7 separate regions of the Homo sapiens genome follow, and regions 2, 3, 4, 5, 6 and 7 are each linked to region 1. The links are contacts of gene promoters, found by promoter capture Hi-C in blood cells and fetal thymus (Javierre and others, 2016). All regions are on one chromosome and are shown on one strand. The core of a region is centred on a gene start or on the middle of the fragment in contact, and the rest is flanking DNA. Distances in the headings are between cores, read along the strand shown. Region 1 holds the start of PKNOX2 (PBX/knotted 1 homeobox 2). Region 2 overlaps PKNOX2 (PBX/knotted 1 homeobox 2). Region 3 overlaps PKNOX2 (PBX/knotted 1 homeobox 2). Region 4 overlaps CCDC15 (coiled-coil domain containing 15). Region 5 overlaps PKNOX2 (PBX/knotted 1 homeobox 2). Region 6 overlaps CCDC15 (coiled-coil domain containing 15). Region 7 overlaps PKNOX2 (PBX/knotted 1 homeobox 2).

What was found. The method cuts DNA at HindIII sites, captures the fragments that hold promoters and counts their contacts. A CHiCAGO score of 5 or more calls a contact.
Region 2: a contact is called between a fragment that was not itself captured here and the fragment with the promoter of PKNOX2 in region 1, in 1 of 17 cell types (endothelial precursors). The highest score is 5.7, in endothelial precursors.
Region 3: a fragment that was not itself captured here is called in contact with the fragment with the promoter of PKNOX2 in region 1 in 2 of 17 cell types (endothelial precursors and M2 macrophages); the score reaches 6.6 in endothelial precursors.
Region 4: a contact is called between a fragment that was not itself captured here and the fragment with the promoter of PKNOX2 in region 1, in 12 of 17 cell types (monocytes, naive B cells, total B cells and 9 more). The highest score is 10.2, in monocytes.
Region 5: a fragment that was not itself captured here is called in contact with the fragment with the promoter of PKNOX2 in region 1 in 1 of 17 cell types (endothelial precursors); the score reaches 5.9 in endothelial precursors.
Region 6: a fragment that was not itself captured here is called in contact with the fragment with the promoter of PKNOX2 in region 1 in 6 of 17 cell types (monocytes, endothelial precursors, M2 macrophages and 3 more); the score reaches 7.2 in monocytes.
Region 7: a fragment that was not itself captured here is called in contact with the fragment with the promoter of PKNOX2 in region 1 in 3 of 17 cell types (endothelial precursors, M2 macrophages and M0 macrophages); the score reaches 10.6 in endothelial precursors.

Annotation. Positions count from the first base shown.
Region 1 is chr11:125,162,924-125,166,458 of GRCh38, forward strand. It overlaps PKNOX2 (PBX/knotted 1 homeobox 2), which reads left to right and starts at 1,828. Exons shown (of 13, transcript NM_001382323.2): 1 at 1,828-1,853. It overlaps PKNOX2-DT (PKNOX2 divergent transcript), which reads right to left and starts at 1,686. Exons shown (of 3, transcript NR_125759.1): 1 at 1,418-1,686. RefSeq lists a silencer at 1,541-1,690. The HindIII fragment of the contact is 6,114 bases long and covers 1-3,535 here.
Region 2 is chr11:125,404,659-125,408,193 of GRCh38, forward strand. The region is part of intron 7 of PKNOX2 (PBX/knotted 1 homeobox 2); the gene reads left to right. Among named protein-coding and RNA genes, the nearest start is that of FEZ1, 90 kb to the right of the region's middle. The HindIII fragment of the contact is 3,415 bases long and covers 260-3,535 here.
Region 3 is chr11:125,374,803-125,378,337 of GRCh38, forward strand. The region is part of intron 5 of PKNOX2 (PBX/knotted 1 homeobox 2); the gene reads left to right. Among named protein-coding and RNA genes, the nearest start is that of PKNOX2-AS1, 110 kb to the left of the region's middle. The HindIII fragment of the contact is 2,720 bases long and covers 372-3,091 here.
Region 4 is chr11:124,957,047-124,960,581 of GRCh38, forward strand. It overlaps CCDC15 (coiled-coil domain containing 15), which reads left to right. Exons shown (of 16, transcript NM_025004.3): 3 at 2,069-2,218; 4 at 2,769-2,957. Among named protein-coding and RNA genes, the nearest start is that of CCDC15, 4.6 kb to the left of the region's middle. The HindIII fragment of the contact is 912 bases long and covers 1,213-2,124 here.
Region 5 is chr11:125,356,687-125,360,221 of GRCh38, forward strand. All of the region lies in intron 4 of PKNOX2 (PBX/knotted 1 homeobox 2), which reads left to right. Among named protein-coding and RNA genes, the nearest start is that of PKNOX2-AS1, 92 kb to the left of the region's middle. The HindIII fragment of the contact is 1,612 bases long and covers 977-2,588 here.
Region 6 is chr11:124,974,147-124,977,681 of GRCh38, forward strand. It overlaps CCDC15 (coiled-coil domain containing 15), which reads left to right. Exons shown (of 16, transcript NM_025004.3): 5 at 950-1,063; 6 at 3,332-3,454. Among named protein-coding and RNA genes, the nearest start is that of CCDC15, 22 kb to the left of the region's middle. RefSeq lists a silencer at 2,873-3,073. The HindIII fragment of the contact is 1,796 bases long and covers 1,046-2,841 here.
Region 7 is chr11:125,339,974-125,343,508 of GRCh38, forward strand. The region is part of intron 3 of PKNOX2 (PBX/knotted 1 homeobox 2); the gene reads left to right. Among named protein-coding and RNA genes, the nearest start is that of PKNOX2-AS1, 75 kb to the left of the region's middle. RefSeq lists an enhancer at 1,376-2,125. The HindIII fragment of the contact is 5,222 bases long and covers 1-3,535 here.

The DNA.
Region 1 (3,535 bases), core at 578-3,077:
AAGAGAGAAACTCCTCCCTCCAGGGGTCCTGGGCAGAGACAAATGGATCTCCCCTCCCCCTCCCTTATCTGAAGAGGGCTTCCCTCTGAGAGTTTATGGCAGCCTGACCTCCAGCCTCTGGGTTGGAGAATCTGGCCGCTTCTGTACCACATAAAAAGGGCAAGTGCATTCATTATTATTATATTATTATACAATGTATAATATATAATAGCGATTATGCTGTCAGCAGCCAGAGACTCTGACTGCAGATCAGAGGCTAGGGTGACATAAATCCACCTAGTGAAGTTTTTGAAGGTTCTATGTGAAGGTGAGAGGATTCTAATCTGTCTATAATGGGGGCTACCACTGAAGAGTTTCTCCCACAAGCAACGTTGGTGGGTGGATTTGAGGGTATTGGGAGGATCTGGACAAACAGTAGTGTGTGTATCTGGGATGTGATATAAGAAGGGTCTCAATTGCCTCCCCTGAGCCAGGCAATGCTAACAGCTCTCATCCTTGCCCATGACGGAGGCGGGTGAGTGGCGACCCAGAGGCCTGAGAAGAGCTCAGGGGCAGCCTTCAACTTCTTGGGTCAGATTCTTTACTGAAAACCCAGAGGCTGGGTTTCACTTTCTGCTTTCCCGCTTTTGTCGGTGTCTTTGTCTGGGCTTCTTCCAGGCCCCCTGCCTGGCCTGGGGTCAGAGGATCAATGGCTGCCTGACTGGCTGAAAGGGCTCCTCTATGGGGAGCAAGAAGCAAACTTCCAGAGGCAGAAGGGGTTCTCTTGTCCCTTTATGCGGAGGGCCATGTGCTAAGTTGAGGAAGCAAGCAAGTGTGCTCCTGTGTGTGGCTCTTAGTAGGACTGTGATCTCTGCTGAGTGAATGGAGGCGCTTGTGGGTCTACACATGCCTGCTTTTGTCTTCCACTGTAGAGGGCATGTAAGGAGCCCATTTCCTCCCTGATGTAGATGAAGCCACCCCAGCAGGCCCAGGCTGAAACAGCCCAGCTGGTCTTTCCCTTTATATGACTGCACCCCAGCCCCCAGAACTCTGGGAACTCACTGAGTTTCTTGAGGACTTTTTATTAGAATGAAAATAGCAGTGGCTTAGAACAGGCTTGCCTGACATTTGCAAAGAAGTGCTTTACTGACAAAGCCTATCCACTCTTTCCTCTCTCCCTCTGCCCCACCTTGAACCAGACACCCCGGGAAGCCCACAGCAGAAAAAGCTCTTGAGACCAGGAATAACTAACCAGAGTGTCATCTGAACACCTTTTCTGGGGCCAGGGTAATGAGAATTATTCAAATGCAATCATAAAAATGAGGCCAGCCAGGCAGGAAAAGGGGGAGGGGGAGTGCTGGTGGAAGGAAGGATTTCTTGCCCGTTTTAAGTTTCATCATTTCTGGGGAGTTCTCTTGGGGTCCACAGAAAATCTCACCTCATCTCGGTCCCCTCAGCACCGGTGATATCTTGGAACTCGGCCCCGGTTGTTCGCTAAGGAGGACTTGGCTTGGGGGCGGGAGGGTGCTCCAGAGTTCCTGGGGGTCCACCGCACTCCCCATCCGAGGCTCCTCGCGAGCGGAGCCGCTTCTCCAGGCCGCCCGCCTCCCTGCCGCAGGAGCAGGCCCGCGCCCGCCGCCCGAGAGCCTCCGGTAGAGGGAGACACTCCAGCGGCTCCTCCGACTTGGCAGCGGCCGGGCCGGGAGTGGGTGGGGGTGATGGGGGGTGGGGAGAAAAGGGGGAGTGGGGAGAGGGGAGGTGTGTGAAGGGGGGGTCCGGGGGGCGGGTCCCTGTGCCGCTGACGTCCCGAGCAGTGCTGGGAAGTATAGGCTGTGTTGTCACGCCGGTGTCAGTCTGATGAAGATTGGCATCAGGTAAGCTGTCATTCATTTCCATGTCAGAGACGCTTTTGCAGGCGGCGGCGGCGGCGCGGCGGCGGCTGCTGCTGCGGGCGGCTGCCTCAGAGCGCGTGTGTTTTATTCCAGTCCCCAAGCCAGAGTATTATTCATTGCGACAGGGCAAGGAGGAGAGAGGGAGAGAGGGAGGCAGCAGGGAGGAGAGAGAGGGAGGCAGCAGGGAGGAGGGAGGCAGGGAGCAGCGAGGGACGGCGGGAGCGTGCAGAGAGAAGCTGGGGAAGCGCCGGGAGAGCGCGGAGCGGAGCAGCGCGAGGGGCGGCGAGGCCGGGCACGGAGGCTGCGAGAGCCCCGCGGGCCGCCCGCTCCCCTGCCCGGCCAGCGCTCAGCCCCGCCGCCGCCGCCGCCGCCGCCTCGCCGCGCTTGGGCCCGTGGCCGGCCGCGCATTGTCCTCGGGTGCAAGGAGCCGGGCTGCGGACTCGAATCGCCGCGGGCCCAACCCCGTAGCGGGCGGGCGGGGAGCTGTGCGCCAGGAGCGCCAGGGGACCCGAGAATAGGAACAGGCACGCCGGCCCGAGCCCGGGTGCAGAAGGCTCCCGGCCGGGCGCTCCGCGGGGAGAGGCTGGGAACCGCGGGCAGGCTCCAGGTTCTCTTTCTCCCGGCTTCGGGCGTCCTTGGGGCCGGCGCTTACTCCGCGCCACCAGCCTGGAGATGCTTTCCAGCGGCTGGAGGCGGGAGCGGTCCCAGGCTGGGGCCAGGTGACCGGAGGAGTCGAGGAGCCGCGGCCGCGGCCTGGGGAGGCAGGGCGAATGAGGGTTTGCAGACGGATCAGTGGAGACAGGGGAACACCGGCGGGGCCCGGGAAGCCAGGATCCGAGGGGCTACACGCACGGACCCTCACCCAGGGAGGAGCGAGAATGTGTAGGGTCACCGGCTTTCCATGATTGCTGGGGATCTTTGGTGAGGCGGGCGTAGGGGCCCGCGCGAGGCTTGGGAATCGGGAGCCCTTCTGGCTCGAGAACTAGGGGATGAGTTCGTAAAAGAGGGAACTGAAAGCGATCGAGAGCGGAGAGCTGAGGGGGATGGCGCAGGATCCCGAATCTGCCGCTCAAAGTTTGCATTTCTTTCGGGTTAGGAGACGGGCTTTCCTGGCTCCCGATCCCCAGGAAGAAACGAGCGAAATGGGCCGTCCTTTCCCGGGGCTCTTCACGGGGGAGCCGGGGGTTTCCGCGCGGTGGGGAGACTCGGGTTGGGAATTGAGGGGTAGGGGCTTGTGGATCGGCCTGAATTAGGGCTGGGTTTTAGGACCAGTCTAGAGTTCGGTTTATAGGATCCAGACTGTTTACGGAATCGGGATCGAGGGGCCGATAAGTAGTTTACACGCCGGCCAGAGCAGAGGGCTGGAGGTCGGAGTTGGGGGCTGGAGGAACGGGTGGCGTTTTTAGGATTCAGTAACAGGATCACAGCTTTTTCTTGTGGTGGAAGCTATTGGAATTTGGGGAGGGTAGCACGAGGGGTCCTGCAGCTCCGCGTGTGAAAAAGCGTTTAGGTAGGCGATGAAAGTAGTTGATCTGAGCCATGGCAGGCGAGCCCCGAATTTTTGCTGCTTCCCCCTGAAAGTGTTTCTTTAGGAGGAGAGGACTTGGGCCACACAGGACCCGGTCCTAAGAGAGCGATTCCGGGAAGCGGACAGATCGAAGAGA
Region 2 (3,535 bases), core at 717-3,216, 240 kb after region 1:
GGAATACACCCACAGCCTTAGGCCAAAGTCAGACCACACATGTATCTCGCATGTACCATGCACTTAACATTGCGCTAAGCAGTTTCGGGGAATTCAGAGAAAGACCCCTCTTTCCCTCAAAAAGCCTGCCACCAAGCTAGGGAAAGACGACGCCTGCATTAGAGAGAACCATTCTGTTGTGTCCAGTATGTAAGGCAGATGGGAGGCTTTGAAGAGTCCAGAGGACGGGCCGCGGCTGTGCCCTGGAGAGGTCAGGACAAGCTTTCCAGCAGAAAGGAGACATTCAGAACCGACCCCCACCCGCCCCGAGCCCAGGCAGGGGAGCCGCCAGCACGCGCCTTCTGGGAGGCTTTGGTGAGTGTGGTCTGAGCCGGTGGATCAGCAGAGACCTCTAGTGGCCGGGGGGAGGATGGCAGGTGGCTGGGGCTGGCTCCGCACTGCACCCCACTCCGGCCACCGACTCACCGTCACCCACCCTCCCACACAATCCTTAGGAAATGGCATGGGCTCTTTTACAGTCCTCAGCTGGAAGGATCTTTGCCAGGCCATCCCGTTCATTCCCCTGTTTCACAGGCATCCAAGTAAGATAAAAATTCCACCTATTTCAAAACAGCTTAAACAGAAACTTTTCTGTCATTTATCTCCTTCACTCCTTCATGTCTTTGTCCCATTCTGGTTTCTTCCAGGAATTCCTTCCTTGAGTGGAAATGAAGTCTTCCTTGAGTTTCCCAGGGCAGTTCAAGCCCTTTCCCTATTAAAAATGAAGCACGGTGGCTCACAGGGACAGACAGCTCTTCCTGGGCTGACGTGAGACCGCTGTGCATTCATGTGGGCCCCTGCACCCCCCACTTCCAAAAGTCATTCCACAGCTTCTCATCGTTTCTTAGTAAGGCCTTCCTTTGGAACAAGTCATCTTTCTGCTGTTCCAAATGCAATTTGGAGTAAAACTCCCCTGGGGACCACTGAGGTCTGTGAAGAATGAGTGGCAGTCGCAGTTCCAGGGTGTTGCAGCTGGCCCAGAGGATGGTGCTCGGGAGGCACCAGTTCTCTGCCATTCCAAACCCAAAGCCCTGCCTTGCTCTGCCCCTCCTGAGAGGCTCCTGCTTCTGAGTCTCAATCAACAGCACACAAGGAACAGGAGTGGGGCCGCTTCCAGGGGTGCCCATGGAGCCCGGCGTGTTGGTTTTCATCTGATTCCCAGGCCTCAGGCAGTTTCCAGAGGCTTGGGGACACCACGGCTGTCTTCCTAGTGGAACAAAACGAACAGAATTCTTGGGCTGGATAACCAGCTGTCATCCCCAGGTTCCTGGATAATTCCAGCAGGGATGTGAGGCTCTGGGTGCTGAAAAAAGTAACTAGAACCGTACCAAACACTCTTCTCACTTCCATCTGGGTGCTAAGGAGCCTAGAGGGGAGCAACTCTGTGTCTAGACACAGTGGCATCTACCTGGGTTTGGAGTCTGATAAGCCCTGAGGGGAAGCTGTCAAAAAGCTAATAATACTGTGTGCTTAGCCAACATGTGCTCCCCACGGGGTTTCCACCGCTGCTCTGGAAGTTCCTTCCTCAGAAAAGAGAGTCAGACCCTCCTTGTCTCCATTCCACGGCTCTAGAGACTAAGCCTGGACTGGAAATCGCAGCCAAGTGGAGTTGTGGGGCTAGTCAGAGACGATGCTTAGGATCCTGGGACTCGACCATTGCCCAGGAACATCTCAGACAGGGAGACATGTAGCCAGGTTTGCACAACTCTGCCTGCGTGCGCAACCCCAGCTGAACCCCTTCCATTGCTACGTAAAGAACTCAAGTGGCTTGAAGGCTTCTAGGACAGGTTTTTAAATCCCAACTGTACGACTCCCTAGTTGAGTGACCTTAGCCAAGGGAAGTGGGAAATAAATTATTGGATGGCTAAATGTGCCAGGCACTGTGCTTGCATTGGAGCCTGTCTGACCCCGAAGCACATATCCTCTCTCTGTGAGCACTCGTCCTACACTCAGAGCCAGAGGCCTTAGGCTGGAGGCACAGTTATTTGACTCTGGGAAGTCACTTCCATCCTCTCTGGACCTCAATCTCTCTTCAGGCAAATAGGACAGTCCTGCTGACCCCATGGGGTGATGGTGACATTAAAATGGAACAGCGTGGTGAAAGCTCTCTCATACTCAGCGTGTACGATCTTTGGGACCATCACAAGGAAGTTTTTAGAAATATAGATTGCTAGATGATGGGTGAGGGTCTTGACCCAGTGGCCCTGAGAATCTATGTCTAAAAAAAAAAAAAAAAAAAAAAAAAAAAAGCACACTCAAGGCAGGTTTGTGAAGCAGCTCATGTTTACAGATGTAAGGGATGAATATCATTTCCCCAGACCTCCGGGATGCCAAAATTTTGCTTCCTCTTCCCTGCCCCACCTAAAACGTTGCCAGTCCCAGCCCTGCCCTTGGACTCTATCTCTGAAGGTTTTTATTTTATTCCTTCACTGATAGAATCTGGCTGCCTCTCAGCACCTTCCAGCCAAAGACCCAGGGAAGGGAGAGAAGGGTAGGAAAGAGAAGGCTCTGATCCAATGCATAAATTGCCCTTAGTTACCCAAATTGGGTAAATTGGCATGGAGGGTATCCAAGCCACAAGGTGGAGAAGCAGCCAGGGTCTGAGTAAGCAGACGAAGCATCCAGGTGGTGGCTCACCCTCTGCCTTTGGCTAGGAAACAATGTGTGTTGGTTGAATCCCAAGGGACACATCTTGTATTTATTTTACTGACTTTGCTTGTATTTTTCTAACCTTGTTGGGTACTTTTTTGGGGGTGAAGAAAGTCTAGGACAACCTTTTATGTTTGAAATTCTCAAATATCCCTACCAGAAGAGGCACAGGCTAGCATGGATGATTCCAAACAAGGGATTGAGAAGTCACTTCCACTGGTTTTAAGGTGAATGGCATGGAGGTACCCACTCCCCCATTAAATTTACCTTCAAGCCTGGTGTGGTGGCTCACGCCTGTAATCCCATGACTCAGGAGGCTCAGGTGGGAGGATTACATGACCCCAGAAGTTTGAGACAAGCCTGGGCAACAGAGCAAGACTCTCTACCCTGTCTCAAAAAACAAACAAAAAAAAAAGTAAATTTACCTTCCGAGTTTGCTTCAGCTTCAAATATAATATCAGCACGGTTTACACACCATGAGAATGGTAGGCTGGGATGTTGGAACAAGGAGAACTCAAACTCAGAGCAGTCTCATCGCTGAAAACTCAGGCGTTGAGGGTCCCGGTGTCACATGCACTGTATACATAAGGAGATGAGGCCCACAGAAGGGTGGTGACGAGATTGCCTTTCCTCCAGTGCCCACGCTGCTTCTGGACTTCTGAGTTTTAGTTGTTTTTATCTGTTCACCTTGCCTGCAATGATGATTGGTTGACCTGCAGGATTCAAGGAGCATTTGCAGCCCAGAACCGGTGTAGGGGGCATTTGTGGGTGAAGGAGATCTGTGTTCTAGTCCTCTGGCTGCTAACGGGCTGTGTGGCCTTGGGAAGTCCCAGGCATCTCTAAACCT
Region 3 (3,535 bases), core at 482-2,981, 210 kb after region 1:
TGGCAGTGCTTGGCACACAGAAGGCTCTTGGTGAATGGTATCTACATTCATGAAGAAGGACTGCACCGGGTCTGTCCCCCTTACAAGAAGGAAGACAACCAGCAATTGGGCCTCCTGCTAGTGCAAATGACATGGGGTGGGGTGGGGTGGGGTGGGAGGAGAACAGAAAGCTGGGGCCATGAAGGTTCATATGGCCAGTGGCTTCTCACCGGGCCTGAGCTAAGCCAGCTTCCCTGTCTTTTAACCATAGTGCCACTTTCTGCTTTTCCCAGGCACTGATCCATTTCATGGTTGAGTGGGAAGAACCTGAACTGAAAATTTAGTCTGCATTCTGACTCTATCATCGGGCAAATCTTTAACTTCTTTAGATAAGCTTTCCTACCCCACAGGGTAGGCATCAAACGAGGAGAGGAGAGATCTGTAAAAATGTTAAGGCCTCTCCAAACACACACAAGTATTATTACAAGAGGAGGTTCTTTTGGAAACTCACCGGATAAAGCAGAGATTCTCTCATACAGCAACAGTCTCGTGGCTCCCAGGGTAATCCTGGCAGCTCAGTGCTTGGACCCCAGGATGTGTATGACTCAAGAACAGTAGAGAAAAGGGGGAAGGCAGATGAAGTGAGTTCAGTAACTGCTCACAAGTAGTACATGGGAGAGAGGGGAGAGCACACGATTTGGAGTTTGAATACCTGGATTTTAAATCTCAACTCAGTTACTGCATAGCCTGATGCGGTCATTTAACCACACAGCACATCTGTTTGCTAATGAGTGAAATGAGAATGAGAAGCCCGTTGGGGTATCAAAATGCAATAAGCACATATAAGAGCACTTTACAAAGTGCCACTGAGTGTGTGTGGGTGTGTGTTTAGTCCTTGACTGTGACCAAGACAACGTGGTTAGGGCTCACCTCCTCACAGCATCTCTTCCCCTTGAAGTTCTTTCTCTAGGGGGACTGGCTGAATTTCTGGTGACTTGGCTGGAATCACTGATCGCCTTTCACTAGCTGCCTAATTTCAGGAAGGACACTTGTCTTTTCTCTTTTGTTTATAACTTTTATTTTCAGTTCGGGGTGCAGGAGCAGGTTTGTTATATAGGTAAACTCGTGTCATGGGGTCTGTCGCACTTCTCTTTTCACTGCCAGAGTCACCTCGCCTTGTTCTGAAGGGGCTGGACGCGACATCCCCACCAGGTCTCATGTATCAGGCTCTTTGTATTTTTGCCCTCGCAGAGCAGTTTTAACTTTCACTGTGTTGAGATTTCACATAGATGCGTTTAATGTGCCGGGAGGAGTGTGTGCGTGCATGTGTCTGAAGGGAGGAGGGCTGAGTAGACTGCGACCTGCCCTGGGCCCCACACTTGCCGGGAATGGACCTGTCCACCCACCTGGGGGAGGAGAGCTGGGCTGGAGCCCAGGAGCTCTGACAGATGCAGCTCCAATTTAGCAACTCGAAGAAGTCCTCTCCAAGGCAACCCAGGCGAACACACCGCCCACTGGGCAGGACTAAAAATACACCCGCATGGTTTCAACGTCACACCTGAAGTAAAAATACATCCAACCAGGGGCCGCTGGCTCGCTCCCACCCCCCTCTGTTCTCTCCATCTGGTGCTTTCAAGGGGAGGAGAAGCAGAGGGCTGGACAAGCACCTTCCTCCCTACTCCCTCCCCTCCCTCTAAGACCTCACCACCCTCTCTGCAGGCAGCCCCCAGCAGAGCCCCAAAGAAGGCAGGTCCTTTCGTAGCAACTGTGACTAGAAGCTGCCAGATGGCAAAATCTGTTCCAAGTCCCCCTAGTATGGATGGATTCTGAGCCTGAAAGAACTTGAGGATTGTGTCTCAAAACCTTCATTCCAATAGTCATTGCTTACTCCACTCATTCATTCACTGATTCCCATTCACTGATTCGTCAAAAATGTATTGATCCTCTGCTGTGTGCCATATACTGTGCCTAACCCTTGGGAGTTCAGAGAGAGAGAAAATGTGGTCACCGACTGGAGGAGCCCACCATGCCATGAGGAAGACAGTCCTGTGCACAAACGACTGTGCTTAGTAGAGTTTAAGAAGTGTCATAAAATAAATAAAAATAAATTTCTATTGGCAGTCCTTTTTCGGTTAAAAGAAAACGAGGTTCGAAGTTCTGATAAATTGTAAGATGCCTCTCCCTCCTCTTTCTGGGCCTCTATTTGAATTGGCATGTGGGTTTGTTTTCCCAGCCAAATGAGTCAGTGGAGATGGGAATATAAATTTATTGGAGTAGATGGTGTCAGTGTTGCCCTGAATTTAAAAAGTGCCCACGCACCGTTCCAGGGAAATGGAGCAGGCATTAATTGATAGTTTACTAAGTGCCAGACACTCTCCATGTTTCTTCATTTAATTCTTACAGGAACCTGCATGGGAGGTGTTGTCCTTAATGAAAGAGGACACTGAGGCTCCAAAAATTCAGTAACTTACCCAAAGTGTAGCTTATTTCAGACCACCCAGCTTCCCACCCTAAATTGTGAGTGAGGTCAAGGAAGAAACCCCTAGCATTTGCTGTGAGGGCTCGGAGGAGGCGATGGTTTCTCTTGCTGGAGAGACCCATGAGGGGAGCCTGCACAGAAGGCATGTTGGCCTGGATGCTGAGGTCGTTGGAGGGGACATGAAGAGACACAGGAGCAGGGAATTCAGGTGGAAGGAGCAGCAGGAAGAAAGTCATGGGCACACGAGAGCAAAGGGCAAAGATGGGCACAGGAAGGCACAGAAGTTTGCTTTCCACGGGCTGCTGAAGGACAGTAGTGACCATTCCAGGGACCAGGGTCCGCCTGCCCTCTCCTTCCAGCCACCACCTTTCTCTGCTGAGTCCTTTTACAGGGTTGTCCAATCTTTTGGCTTCCTTGAGCCACATTGGAAGAAGAATTGGCTTGAGCCACACATAAAATACACTAATACTAACAATAGCTGATGAGCAAAAACAAACAAACAAAACAACAAAACAACAACAAAAACGCAAAAGAAAAAATCTCATAATGTTTTAAGAAAGTTTACGAATTTGCGTTGGGTCACATTTAAAGCCGTTCTAGGCTCCATGCCACCCATGGGCCGCGGGCTGGACAAGCTTGATCTAGGAGAGATACTGAAAAGGGTCTGAGGCCACATGATGAAGAGCCTGGAGCGCCCATCTGCGAGCGCTGGCTTCATTTCACCATCATCCAGGAGAAAATTTACTGCCCTCCTCTGAAAGGGCACTTGTTGTGGACCATCTGCGGTAAACAGATGCCCCAGGAAGGGGTTAGGGGTCTGTTTGGGAAAGTAGTTTCTAGGCTATTCTCTGGTTCTGAGATCCCAGTGGTGTCTGGCCTGGGCACTAAGAAATAAAGGCTCAGAACGCCAGTCCTCAGGCAGAGTTTCTGGAAAGGCGAACTTTTAGCTACTTGACAACCACTCACTGTGTGCCGGTAGGGCATAGGTTGGTAGCCAGAGCGCCACCGATCCCTGCGTGCCCCACCTCACCCCACCCCACCGGCCAACAGCCTTGTGTCCTCTGAGCAGTGGGACCC
Region 4 (3,535 bases), core at 419-2,918, 210 kb before region 1:
ATTGCATTATTTTATAATTTGTTCTGGTTACCTTTTGCTGTGTAACCAACCACCCCAGAACTTAGTGGTATAAAGCAAATAATACTATGTAACAGGAATTTGAGCAGGGTACAGTGGTAATGGCTTGTTTCTGCCCCATAGTGTCTGGGACCTCAGCTGGGGCTCAAATAACTGGACATGTCTGAGACACCTTGACTATTTTCCGGCTATTGGCTGGAGCTAGACAATAGTCAAGTTCTCCCAGTAATGTGGCACCTGCTGGGCTGTAATGTCCAAGATGGCTTTCTTATTCACATATCTGACGCTTGGCCTAGGATGACTAGAATGTCTGGGTGCTGGTTAGATATGTTTCTCTTTTCACATGGCTTCTCTGTTTGACTAACTTGGGCTTCCTCACAGCATGGTAATCTCAGGGTAGTCTGAATTTTTATATGGTGCTGACTTCCTTCAGAATGAGCACTCTAAGAACAGAGGTGGAAGTTTCTTTATGACCTGGCTTGTAATCTTGTGGAGTAAAAGAGGAGCAGAGAAAATGGAGGTAAAAGAAAGAGGCCGAATGGCTTAAACTTGTCTGGGGCTTGAGTTAAGCTGGGTCAGTTGTTCAGGCTTCATTACGTATATATCTCTCCGTTGGAATTATTTTACCTAATTGTTCTTTGACACTTGTACACTCCACTAGAGTAGTTTATGGGATAGACATCTTGGAAATTTTAACTTAAATTGAAATTTGAATGCATTTGATTTTGAGAATTTAATGACAGCCTGTAAAATGATCTGAGGTACCCTTCAGAATTAGAAGTTGGAATCACTGAGTTAGAAGGAATAGGTACGAGATATGATGATGATTTTATTTAATTTGAAAATTCCTAGTGAAAGAGAGACATAGTCAAGAGAAAAGCAGTGTAGAGAGGAACATAATTGTTGGAGTCAGAAACTTCTAATTCTGCTACTAGTTAGCTATATTAAAATTACTTAATCTTTCTGAACTCCAGCTTCCTCATCTGTAACATAAGGGATAAGAATACCTACTGCCAAAGGTGGTTTTGAGGATAGAGTGCTACAAAGTAGTTAAAATACTTGTCACCTGATAGATCCATAATAATGATAAGTGCTGTTATGATGATGACTATGATTATTATTCAAAGCACTTAGAGGAGATAAATGCAGATCAAGAACTCAAATGGGATAAAGTGTTCCAGATTGTTCAGAACAAGCTTGTCCAACATGCGGCCATGGGCCACATGTGGCCCAGGATGGCTTTGAATGCGACCCAATGTAAATTAATAAATTTTCTTAATTAACACTATGAGTTTTTTTGTGATTTTTTTTTTTCTCATCAGCTACTAGTGTTAATGTATTTTATGTGACAGTTCTTCCAACATGGCCCAGGGAAGCCAAAATATTGGACACCCCTGGTTTAGAATATGTTTTGGAATTGAGCAATTATATAAATATATATTGACTACCCTTATAGTGAAGGCTCTGTACTAGATGCCGTAGGGGAAATAAAGGAGAATTGAATACATATCCTGTCCTCAAAGAGTTCATAATCTAGTAGGGGAGTCAAGAAGTACTATACTCAGTTAACATTGGTGAAATGAGAGGTGTTATAGCATAAGAGGGCTTAGAGAGAGAGTGTTGTGGAAGGTACTGGGGAGTGGGTATTAAATGGTTGTGAAAACTGAATAGGCCTTTACTAGGTGGAGATGAAAGGAAGGGCATGCCAGGTTAAAAATGGAGCATAATGCCAAATATGAAGACATTTTAACAATAGGACATATTTGGTGAGTGGTAAGTAACCTGGTGTGTCTTGACTATTTACTCCATTTTAGAAAATGTGTAACGTGTTAGGTTTTATTTGGTTCATTAAGATTTAATGAAGACATCGTTAGTTCTAATTCAATAAAAAATTTAAGATTTGATACTCATACATTCCATTTTTTTTTGTACAGAATGGAATTATTTTTTTCAGGATTGTATCCTTATCCTGACTGTTTTGTGTTTAAAACAGCCCTAATGGACAAAACTGCTAACATTTAAGTTCATTTTCTGTCTTTCATCTTTAAAGACATCAGCATATTTAATTGAAGAAGAACTAAAGGAACAGCTAAGAAAAAAACAAGAAGCTTTGAAACATTTTCAGAAACAAGTTAAATACCGAGTAAATCAACAAATTAGGTTGAGAAAAAAGCAACAGCTTCAGAAGTCTTATGAAAGAGTAAGTTCAAAAGTGAGCCTGAGTAAAGATTGAATGGAAAATATGTGTGTTATGAGATAAGCTATTAGGCAGTAACAGAATTGCTTTCCTTTGATTACATGCCTAATATAATCTAATTAACTAGTGAAGACAGTAAATTTTTTTTGTAGAGAAACCATGTTTTATTCCTGTGTTCTGACTCAATTTTTTGCTTTTACCAAGTAGTTAAAAGCAATGTCAGAATTTTGGGTTCAGACTTGAGTTTGAATTTTGGCTTTGCTACTTCTAGCTATTGACTTTTGGCTAATTACTTAACTTCACTGATTGTAGTTTCTTCATCCATAAAATAAGGATATGATACTTCTCTCATAGGATTGTGTGAGAGTTAGATGAGATAACCTAAATTATTAGCACATGGGAGGTGCCTGGTAAATGTTAGTTTCTCTGCCAGCTAAAGCCTCTCCCCTGCCCCCCACCCCAATTTAAAATCTTCTGAACTGCTTTAGAGGCATTATTTGATTGCTCTGGATTGGGGTAGAATGTTACTATCCCCCTTTCTTCTTTCGTGTAGGCACAAAAAGAAGGCTCCATAGCCATGCAGTCTTCAGCAACACACTTAACTTCCAAAAGGACAAGTGTTTTTCCAAACAATTTGAATGTTGCTATTGGAAGTTCTAGGTTACCTCCTTCCCTGATGCCTGGGGATGGAATAGAGGATGAAGAGAATCAGAACGAATTATTCCAACAACAAGCCCAGGCTGTAAGTACCTGTTCTTTTTATTTTATGTCTATGATATTTTCCCTATCCCCTAAACTATAAATATGACATCTAGGGTATGAGGTAGGGATTAAGAGTTATCACACTCAGCTTCACTTTTGATAATCATCCCCCTTTTTTTTTTTTTTTAGCTTTGTAAAGTGGGGAATAGTGGGATAATGCTTTTTAAAAATTTTAAATTTAAATTCATTTGTGTTTGGTAAGATACTCTAAAATTATCTAAAGAAAAGTGCCGCGGAGCCTGCAGTGAGCCGAGATTGCGCCACTGCACTCCAGCCTGGGCGACAGCGAGACTCCGTCTCAAAAAAAAAAAAAAAAAAAAAAAAAAAAAAGAAAAGTGCCAAAGTGCTAGAATTCAAAACCTATTAGAAAGCACTTTAGGTCAAGAACATGGATTTTCCAAGTTATATTGAAATTATATTCTAGGCAAGCTACTATTAGTTTGTAATTTACAGAGAGAAATAATTCTTACCTTCGTTGCAAAGAAGTTCAGTATACATAGGTGGCATTTCATTTATTATTTATCTTTGTCTCATTTTTCTTATTTTTGTTTTTTAATC
Region 5 (3,535 bases), core at 533-3,032, 190 kb after region 1:
CTGGGCACCTTCTTTCCCTCCCTGTCCTAGCACCATCCCCACTCCAGGTGGGGCCAGGGGAGGCAGATATCCTGGGGAAGCTGGATGGGCTTTGATCAGTCATTAGGATCCCCATGCTGGTTTAATTAACTGGAGGCAAAAGGGGGTGGCTGGGGCCCCTGGCTGTGAATGGCCTCCATCCAGGCCACACAGCTGTGACAGGCAGAAGTGGGTTCAGATGTTTTCACACTCGCTTTACATTCCTCTCATCTCTTTAAGGGCTGGAGCCCCCTGCCTTGCAGGGCCCTCTGCTCAGCTGCCTGTGAAACACATTTGCTTTGCAGCAATAGAGTTAATTCAGCAGCTTTGAAAGTTCCCCTAAGCCTTTTCTGTGATGGTGATTGATGGCTCCCTCTGCCCCTGGGGGCAACACCCCAGGGACCATATGAGGGCCCACCTTCCCTTGCTTCGACTCACCAAAACAGACTCTTCTCTTTCTTTTTTCTTTTCTGCTGGGCCTTTCTTCTCTTTGTGCACAGTGACCTCTCTCTCTGCCTGCTTGGGCCACCCATGTCTTTAAGCTGAACATATCCCTGAACTCCAACTTACTCAAGACCTGGACTCTTCATTGTGTAAAAGGCAAAAACAACCTCCAGGTCCAACCGTGGGGCCTTTATGCCCATGTAGGAGATGGTGGGCTGTCAGCATGGCTTTAAACTTGGGAAGAAACACTCTACTGGCCTGGTCTAGGTATTTTATTTGATGAACTTACTATATTCTGATATTTACCAAAAACAGAGATTTTATTGTCTACTCCCTTGTCCCCAAGCAGAACGAATGAATGCCCTAAACAGCTACAAAAATAATTAATGGCCCTGGGATACAAAGCCTAAAATAAATCAGGGGACAGGTGATCCAAGTCAGCAGCGGGTCTGGGGAGGACCTTACATGCTCTGCCTGCCTTTCGCACGCCGTTGGTCTTAGTTGGTCTTCAGAAAGCTTTGGTGTCTGTGCGGCCTGGCAGGAGGCAGGTGGGTGAGTTAGGGCCCCAGGATGCTTGCTGTTCTTGAAGTCTGTGGTCTGAAGAGGAGGATGGAATGACTCAATCTCGTAGAAATTCAGCAATCAGGACTTGTAATAAGAATTTGTATAATTATCAGCTCCACTGCTGATGAATTATACAAATTTAGGCAAGTAATTTCAGAGCTATTTCTTTCATCCACTTATCCATTCGATAAACATTGAGTGTGTCCTGTGGGCCATGCGGACATTGTGCTGTGTACTGGGGTGCAAAATCAACAGAGTTCCTGTCCTCTTGGAGCTTAGAGTCCATGTGGGGCCTTAGTTTCTGCATTCATAAAATGAGAATAACTCTGCCCTCCCTGTCTCACGAGGCTGTTGAGAGTGTGGGAACAAAAAGTACAGTGGTGTTCCTCAGCCCCTTTTCACCCTCACCCCAACTTCATTCTTCACTCGATCACCTGCACATCTCCAGCAGCCCAGATGGGATTTAACCTTAATTACTTTTTATTAGGAACATAATAGGCATGTCAAATAGGTTTTACCAGCTATGAACACCCCCTTACACACACGCACACACATAGATGTGCACACACAGGGATTCTGGTGTGCCCTCTGAAGGACCTATTGGAAATCACTGGTTTTGGACTATTACAAAAGGGAAGGATCTTCCAGAGGGAAGCGATGGGATGGGCAGGAGGCCATCAGTTCCCGGGAAAATGCACAAAGCTGGGAAGTGGAGTCCACAGCTTTCCTCTTCTTGGCCTCCTGTCAGTGACAGCCCAGGAAATGCAGTTAGGGGCAGTGAATGTTCCATGAGTCACATTGTGTAAACCACCACTTACAAACCCTTTTAAAATTAATTAACTAACTGAAACCCCCATTGTACACCACTGAGCAACTCTTCTATGGTCTGTTCTGTCCACTTGGCCTGGGATCAGAATAGAGGTGACCGAGGCCTGCTGTTCCAAGAGCCTCTTTGAGCTACACTGGGCTGTCCGGCTCTGATGCCGGCCCTTCCTCTCCCTGGGCTAACTGGGTTGGGGAATATTTTGAGGGGCCTTCTTTGGCCTCTCCCAGGATTTGGGATCCCTGAGGCCTTTAACACATCACTCAGTCATTGCCTCCTTCTGGTCATCCTTCAGTCATTTAACATGTGGGAGTACACTGCGGGCAGGCATGGGAGCTGGGAGACCAGCCCGCTCATGAGACAGGCAAAGGGCCTGGTGTTGCCGGTGTTGGGGTCCGTTCAGATGAGGCAGGAGTCCAGTCTTCTGCGGCCTGGGGAGGGAGGAGAAGCAGGAAAGGCTTCTTGGAAGAGTTGAAGCTGCAGCTGGGTGGGAGGCAGGTTGCAGGGGAGATGAGGACAGTCCCTGCTGAGGCAGCTGTGGGAGCAAAGGCAGGAAGGTAGACACCATCGGAAAGGCAGGAAGGTGGACACCATCGGAAAGGCAGGAAGGTGGACACCATCAGGTGCGCTCAGGCAACCAAGGGTAGGTGTGAGGCGATAGGGTAAGGGGAGGAGGGCTGTGCAGGTGACAAGGCTGCGGATCCGTGAGCAGCTTTCAGTAGCTTTGAAAGTTCCCCTAAGCTTTTTCTGTGACTGTTAGCGAAGGGTCCCTCTGCCCCAGGGGCAACACCCCAGGGACCATATGGGGACCCACCTTCCCTTGCTTTGACTCATCAAAACAGACTCTTCTCTTTCTTTTTTGTTTTCTGCTGGGCCTTTCTTCTCTTTGTGCACCTTGACCGCTCTCTCTGCCTGCTTGAGCCACCCATGTCTTTAAACTGGACATATCCCCATACTCCAACTCGCCTGAGCAGGCCCAGGTCTGGAGCGCCCTGGACTCTGTGCCCCCCAACAATGTTCATGTCCCCTGTTGCCTCCTACCTATTAAGGCCAGACTTGATGTTTACCAAGTGACCTCAAGCCCTGACCTCTTCCCGGGTCCTTGGCTTCTCTCCTGGTTGCCAGGAAACTGATCCCATACCTGGCTTGCCCCAAACTGGAGGGAGTACCAGCCCTGCCGGGCCCGCCTGAAGCCTCAGTGGCCCCTTGAGGGCTAGGCCTGGGCAGCCCCAGGGGGCCAGAACACAAGGTTTTGGCAGCCTAAGGGGGCCCTCCTGGGGCTGGCTGGCACCTACTCTGCCATGTCAGGTGGAGGGCTCAGAAGAGGGGATGTCCTCTTAGGAGTGTCTGTGCTTTTTTTATATTTTTAGTAGAGATGGAGGTTCTCCATGTTGGTCAGGCTGGTCTCGAACTCCCGACCTCAGGTGATCTGCCCGCCTCGGCCTCCCAAAGTGCTGGGATTACAGGCGTGAGCCACCATGCCCGGTGTAATCCCAGCTATACGGGAGGCTGAAGCAGGAGAATCGCCTGAATCCAGGAGGCAGAGGTTGCGGTGAGCCGAGATGGTGCCATTGCACTCCAGCCTGGGCAACAAGAGCGAAACTCCATCTCAAAAAAAAAAAAAAGAAAAAGGAAAAAAAGGAGTGTCTGTGCTGAGAAGGTGAAGGCTTGGGTGTTCAGCGTTTT
Region 6 (3,535 bases), core at 694-3,193, 190 kb before region 1:
TTATTTTTAGTAGAGATGGGGTTTCACCACATTGGTCAGGCTAGTCTCGGTCTCGAACTCCTGACCTCAGGTGATCCGCCTGCCTTGGCCTCCCAAAGTGCTGGGATTACAGGTGTGAGCCACCACGGCTGGCCTACAGTGCTTATCTTAAAAATGATATATGTTTTATTTGTTTCCCTAATGAGATATTCTTTGCAAATTTGTGAGATATAAAATAGGCTGTGCTTCTCTGAAAAAGAAATCAAAATAGCCGCATACTGAAATTTCTGGAGATAAGGAATGAACACGAAATCAACATTTAATATTAGTAGTCATTTATTAGGTGTTACTTAAAGTAGTTGAAACAAATTGGTTCTTTTGAAATGTTTGAATTTGTGTTCTAAGTTAATTTAGGAAGGCTTCTTGGAGGAAGAGGAAGGGAGATTCAAGAAAAGACTTTAAGTAGCTATGGTCTTCAAATGTTGAGGGTGGTGAAAGGAGTCATGTAAATTGGGGATAAAAGGGCTTTAAGGAAACTAGGAATAGAGTCCTAGCAAGCAGTGATGAAAGCAATTAAGCATATATGGAGCACTTGAAGAAATAACTCCTTATTGACAAAGGTGGATAGAAGGTAAGGAATGTGTCTGGTCAGTGATCTCCAAGTGTATTAATTCAGACTTTAGGTTTTCATATTTTTGTGTACATGCTTTATATAAAGTATACATTATTTCTTAAAAAACAGTTTGAGTAACCGCCCTTAAACCAAGTTACAAAGTACAATCTCTAGAATAATGACAATAATGTTGTACCACACTATCAGCACATCAAAGTCTCCTTTGCAAGTAATCCTGTTGTCTTAGATCTGGCATTTTTTAATAATAGGGACCTGTTTTCCTGTTGGAACACTTAGTGCATTTGGAATTAAAACTTATCCTGCTTTTGTTTGCTTTCTTCCCCCTTTCCCTGGCAGCTTAGTGAAACTATGAAACAGGCACGTCACCGGCTAGCATCCTTTAAAACCGTGATTAAAAAAAAGGGATCAGTGTTTCCAGATGATGGAAGGAAAAGCTTTCTTACCAGAGAGGTAAATTAATTTCTAATACATGATTTAAAAAAATACAGGTAAAAAATACAGATAAAGATTTACTTATATCTCAGCATAATTTAGAACTGTAAAATAATTGGAAATAGCCTTAAATACCCAATAGTAGGGGATGCTTGAGTAAATTGTGACATATCCATATGCAGCCATTCTAAAAAATATTTTCAAAGAATATCTGAAGATAAGGGAAAGTGTCTGTGATATAAAGTTAAGAAAAAAGTTGGATATGAAATTAAGTATGATATGATCTTAATTAAAATATATGTATATGTATTCAACAAATACTTATGGAATGTCTGTGATTGCCAGCATTGTTCTAGAAACAGGACTTATAGTGGTGAAAAGACAGACAAAGATCCCTCAAGGAGCTTCTGTGCTAGTTGGGAAGCATATAATAAACAAGCAAATAAATATAGAATATAATTTCAAGTGATAAGTGCTATGAAGAGAAATACAGCAAAATAAAAAGATGGAAAGAGTTCCATGTGCATAGACAAAAGCCTAGGTACAAATGGCACAAGAGGCTAATACTGATTATTTCTGGGTAGTAGTATTACAGGTGATTTTCTTCTGTTTTTTATTTTTAAAAATTGTCATAAAGTATGTCACTTTCTAATCAGGAAAAAATTGAAACTATTAATTTTTAAAAAGAAAAATTCTTTTGATTCAAAACTTAAGTGAGTGTGGAGCTAGGCTTAGGAGGATATGTAAGTCTATACTTATAAAATGACATTGTTTTGGTGCCTACCTCAGAATTCACAAATTTGGATCCTAAATTTATGTGTTTTCCTGTGTGTACTTAATTTTGGCATTAATGTTTTATAGGCAGCATCTAGTAAAATAGACCATTAATTTATTTTTTAATAAATTATGTTTTTTTGCCAATAAATATGTTATTTTTTTGCCATCATCAACTGCCTCATTTAGTTCTTTCCCAGTTTTACTTCCTAATTAGTATACTCTTATATTTTCCTGGAATATGCATATAATATATATAATATATAAATATATAGATATATAATTTTGTATTTTTTTCCATATCTTGACCCAACCATTAAAAATGTTTGTCTCATATATGTTGGCAATTGGTTGAATACTAAACTGTAATGTTTTTCTCTTTAATTACAACTAAGAAATTTATAGTTAAATTTAAAAAACAAGTGGGCGTGGATATGTGTCCATGTATGGCAACACATCCCACGTGCGTTTATATGGTTGTCTTTTTCTAGCATTGCCTTGTGGCTCCTCAGAGTTTCTTTTGTACCTAAATTATTTTCAGATGTTGGTTTCTTGACAGTTTTCATACCTATCGTGGTTTGGTAGTACTATAGTTTGGGCCATTAGACTGACTCCAGGGTACTGTTAGATGAGGTGATTAGACACTTTCTACTAAATCAGAAAAAAAAACACAGTTATCAGATCTTAGAGATGGATATTTATATTGCTTGGAACATGCTCAGACCTTTCAACTGGTGTTTTTCCAGAAAGTGTACTATTCACAGTTCTGATTGAAATAATTATCCAATAGACGGGAGGATTAAGTCTGAGATAACATCTTTGTATAAACCAGTTTTTTACGTCAGAGGTGCCATTTAAGTGTAATTCATTATTGTTATGGTGATAATGATGAATTCAGGCTACCTACTTGCTTCCAAAGAAAGCATATATGTTTTTCAGGTAAAAATATGAAAAACAAATCTACTCAATACAATTGGGAATGATCTAAGAAATTGGTGAAATTTTTCTTATTACTTGTATCAAGCTTTCCCTCAAATCTCAACAATTTTCTACCTTCTTAGTTGTGTGAAGTGGGAATTTGCAAATCAGAAAGAACAATCTATGATTGAGTTGAACCCTGGTTTTATTTCATTATTAGTCTTTAGTGACATTAGAATCTGTCTGGTTGTTATTGATCCGGATTTGGAGATACAAGTGGAACACATACTTGCTTGTACTCTGGCAGGTTGCCAAGACTAAAATCATGAGTCTTCTGAAATTGTTACTGGCTAGAATAGGTGCAAGTTGTCATTTATAAAGTTAATATATTCTCCTGTTTTATTCCATATGGTTTTATATGTGAGCGCTTTGTTTGTACATATGAAGTAGAACTCATGTTTTTTCCCTTTACTGTGTATTAGACTACCAAAACCTACTAAGATAATTTTAGATCTTTCACAGAAACTCAACTTAGTCTCATGAATATGTTGCTTCCTCTAGACCTATTTATATTTGTAGTAATTTTTTTTCCAGGAAGTGCTTTCCAGGAAACCAGCATCCACTGGGATAAATACAGGAATAAGAGGAGAGTTGCCCATTAAGGTCCATCAAGGTCTTTTAGCTGCTGTACCTTACCAGAATTATATGGAAAATCAGGTAGGGAAATATAAAAAGTAGAGGGGAAAGACATTGGCTTATTAGAAGTATCCACAGCTAACTAAGGATGGGATAAAGGGT
Region 7 (3,535 bases), core at 343-2,842, 180 kb after region 1:
TCCATCTTCGTCTCAGTCGTATTATGTTTATGAGACCCCTACTTCTTATCGCTGGGATCAGCACTTTCATTTTCCCATCTCCTGCTCATTTTTATAAAATAATAAGAGCAAAATGCAATGAAATATTTAACAAAATGTGTACACACACTGCTGTAGCAGGATGACAGGGCTGATGGAAGGAACTTCCCTACCGTGGGAAGGCACAGAGTGTGTGTCCATTAACTGATGTACAAAAGCCCAGGCTCGGCAACACAGAAGACATTTAGTGGTGTCAGTATAACATGATGCTTGGAAAATCAGGGCATAGGAAAGTCAAAGGACAGCCAGTATTCGAGGGCCCAACTCTAAACTGGCAGCTTGGTTTTATAATCAGCCTCACCTTTTCTGCACTTCTCCAGTTTCTAGGAGTCTCAGTCCTTCCCTGCTATTTCCTGCCCTCACCCTGAGACTTCCAGTTAAACCTGCAGACTCTGGGATCAGACTGTGTGTAACATCTGGAAACTTCCTCAAAGCCCCGGTTTGCTCACCCACGAATGGGAACAACCGTAATGCCGACACCATCTGGTTGTTAAGGAAAAGAGACCAGGTGACCCGTATCTACTGTTAGTGTCATGCCTGGGGCACAGGGACGGCTCAGTAAGTGGCAGTTGTTATTAATTCTATATTATCATCTCACCCACATCCAAATTGGCTCCAGAAACTAACCAACTTATTCTCACTGTTGTGTAAATGGCTGCTGGGACTCAAAGGGTTATGCTTCTTGGATTGGCTTGTTTTACATTTTAAGAGCAAGCCAGGCCAGGCGCGGTGGCTCACGCCCGTAATCCCAGCACTTTGGGAGGCCGAAGTGGGTGGATCACAAGGCCAGGAGTTTGAGACCAGCCTGGTCAACATGGTGAAACTCCATCTCTACTAAAAATACAAAAATTAGCCAGGCGTGGTGGCAGGCACCTGTAGTCCCAGATACTCCGGAGACTGAGGTGGGAGAATCGCTTGAACCCGGAAGGCAGAGGTTGCAGTGAGCCAAGATCACACCACTGCACTCCAGCCTGGGTGACAGAGTAAGACTCCATCTCAAAAAAAAAAAAAAAAAAAAAAAGTAAGCCGGCCAGGCACAGTGACTAATGTCTATAATCCCAGAACTTTGGAAGGCCGAGGCAGGCAGATCACATCAAGAGACCGAGACCAGCCTGGCCAGCATGGTGAAACCCCTCTTTACTAAAAATACAAAAATTAGCTGGGTGTGGTGGTGCACGCCTGTAGTCCCAGCTACTCGGGAGGCTGGGGCAGGAGAATCGCTTGAACCCGGGAGGCAGAGGTTGCAGTAAGCCGAGATCGTGCCACTGCACTGCACTCCAGCTTGGTGACAGAGCAAGATTCCGTCTCAAAAAAAAAAAAAGGAAAGAAAAAAAGGAGTTAAGCCAAAGAAATTAAACTATAACCATGTATATATATTGAGGCTCCATAAGGAGGTAGACTTTGTGCAGTCATATTGTATAGGCTGCCCCTTCTCCCCCAGTGAACATGCAAGGCAGAGCCATGATCTTGTCTGCTGGGGGGAACAGGGGCCAGTGGGCAAGATGGGACATGCGGGTGAGGAGCAGATTTTCCATAACACAGAAACATGCATGATGATTATTCCCGCCTTGATTTCCCACGTGTAGTCCTGGAGTGGAAGGGGAAGAAAGGCTTCATGGAACAGTAGGCTTTGGAGCCAAGTGTTGATGAAGGGAACGGCATGGCTGTGAAATACAGAACACCTTGGTAGCGGACAAGAAACACAGCAAAAGGCACGAGAGCATCTTAGGTTGGGCGACGGAGGGAGTATCTGCTGGGGTGCGAGTCTGTGTGGCCGCGCCACGTCCTCTCGCATCATGGCTGTCATCTTCCCTTCCCCAGGGCTGGCTTTCCTGAAGCTCAGGAACACAGAGCCAGTGTACCCGCCCTCCTTCCAAGGGGGTGGTGAGGACCAAGGGTGGGGCAGCCTGGCTGGGCAGCCTTTCCTCCTCTAGCCGATCCCATTGCCATGGGCTCTATTTAGAGCTCTTGTTTCTTGTGAGCTCTGCCTGGGCCACCAGGAAGGTGCAGGAAGGGCACACGTTGGCTGGGTATGAGCGTCTCAGGAACTAGTGGCTTTTCAATGATAAATTGAATGCACAGAGCCACTTGCTTCCACAACTCTGACTCTTGACTTTTTTTTTTTTTTCCTAAAGGCAAGTTTTAAAATTTGGAACAAGGTATCATCTAGCCAGAGGACACAGTACAGTCCTCAGAGAGAAAAGGGGCCTGGCTGACCCTTTTAGCTCCGCTGGCTCCAGGAGAATCTGAGGTTGCACCAGAGGTGGAATGCGTAGGCTTCAGGGTCCCTCGCCTCCATGCCCTCCTTCCCCCACCAGCCCCTGCTCCGGCCACCCTACTCACACCTTACATGGTCCCCATGCCTGCTTTCCTCCTCCCCCCAGCTCCCAGTGAGCGTCAGGGCCCTCCTGACTGCCTCAGAGAAGAGAGACTTATGAAAGGGTGGGAGCCCGAGAGGGCTGCCGGAGGTGGCTCTGCGCTTTTCCACCTGGGATCCCAGCGCTGGAGCTGTTTGTCTGTCTCTGTTGAGTTGTGGGTCTCAGGGGCCCGGCCTGTGTTGTTTTCTCAGCTCAGTGCCTGAGCGGCTGCTGTCAGCTCTTGACAAATAATAATAAACCTGGGAATCAGGTTTGTCGAGGGGGACTTCAGTCCCAGGTTCATTTTCAGATCTGTTTCTCTGTGAGTGTGTGCAGACGAGAGAGCACATGATAGTGTCTCTGGGGGAGGGGCGGGCCGGGGCTCCCAGGTGCCCTGACACTCCACCCTAGCCACCACCGTGGAGGAGCTGGAGGGCTCTCCACTGTCCCGATCCCTGGAGCTGCTTGCATGTTGAAAAAAAAAAGGAAAATAATTGAATAAAAGGCCTCAAGCTCTCTTCTTTCCCTGGGCCTCCCCACCTCTCCCACTCTTGTTGTTTGGCTAGAGATGGAGGGGCTGGAGAGGAAAACAAAAGGGCAGAATCCGCTCTCTAGGTTAGAAGGTTCCAAGGGGGCCACAGGCTGGGGGAGGGAGTTGGCTCAGAGCACCCCAGGGCAGCAGCTGTGGCCTCCCTCCTGCCTCCATTCCTGGGGGTGAACAATAGGGGGAGGGGCTCCTGGAATGGGAGAGGTACCCTAAGTTGAACATCACTGGCAAAAGCGGGACCCAGGTGTGGTGAGTGTGAGTTTTGGGGACACAATAGTCATGGCCTCTGGGGCAGAGCAGCACCCACTTTCCAGCAGACAGGACCCACCGCAGGTCACTGCAGCCATCCCCCTGCCTCCAGGTAGGAAAAAGCGCACACCACTTCCGTGAGCAGAATGCAAGGGCTGTGCTCCCCCTTCCAGCCAGCATGCTTTTTTTTTTCTGTTTTTTGTTTTATTTTGTTTAAAGGAACCAAAGGGGGAAAAATTGCCAAGTTGTAAAGTGCTTAAAGAGGAGATGAGAATCTTCATCAAAATGCTAAAAGCTGGAGGGG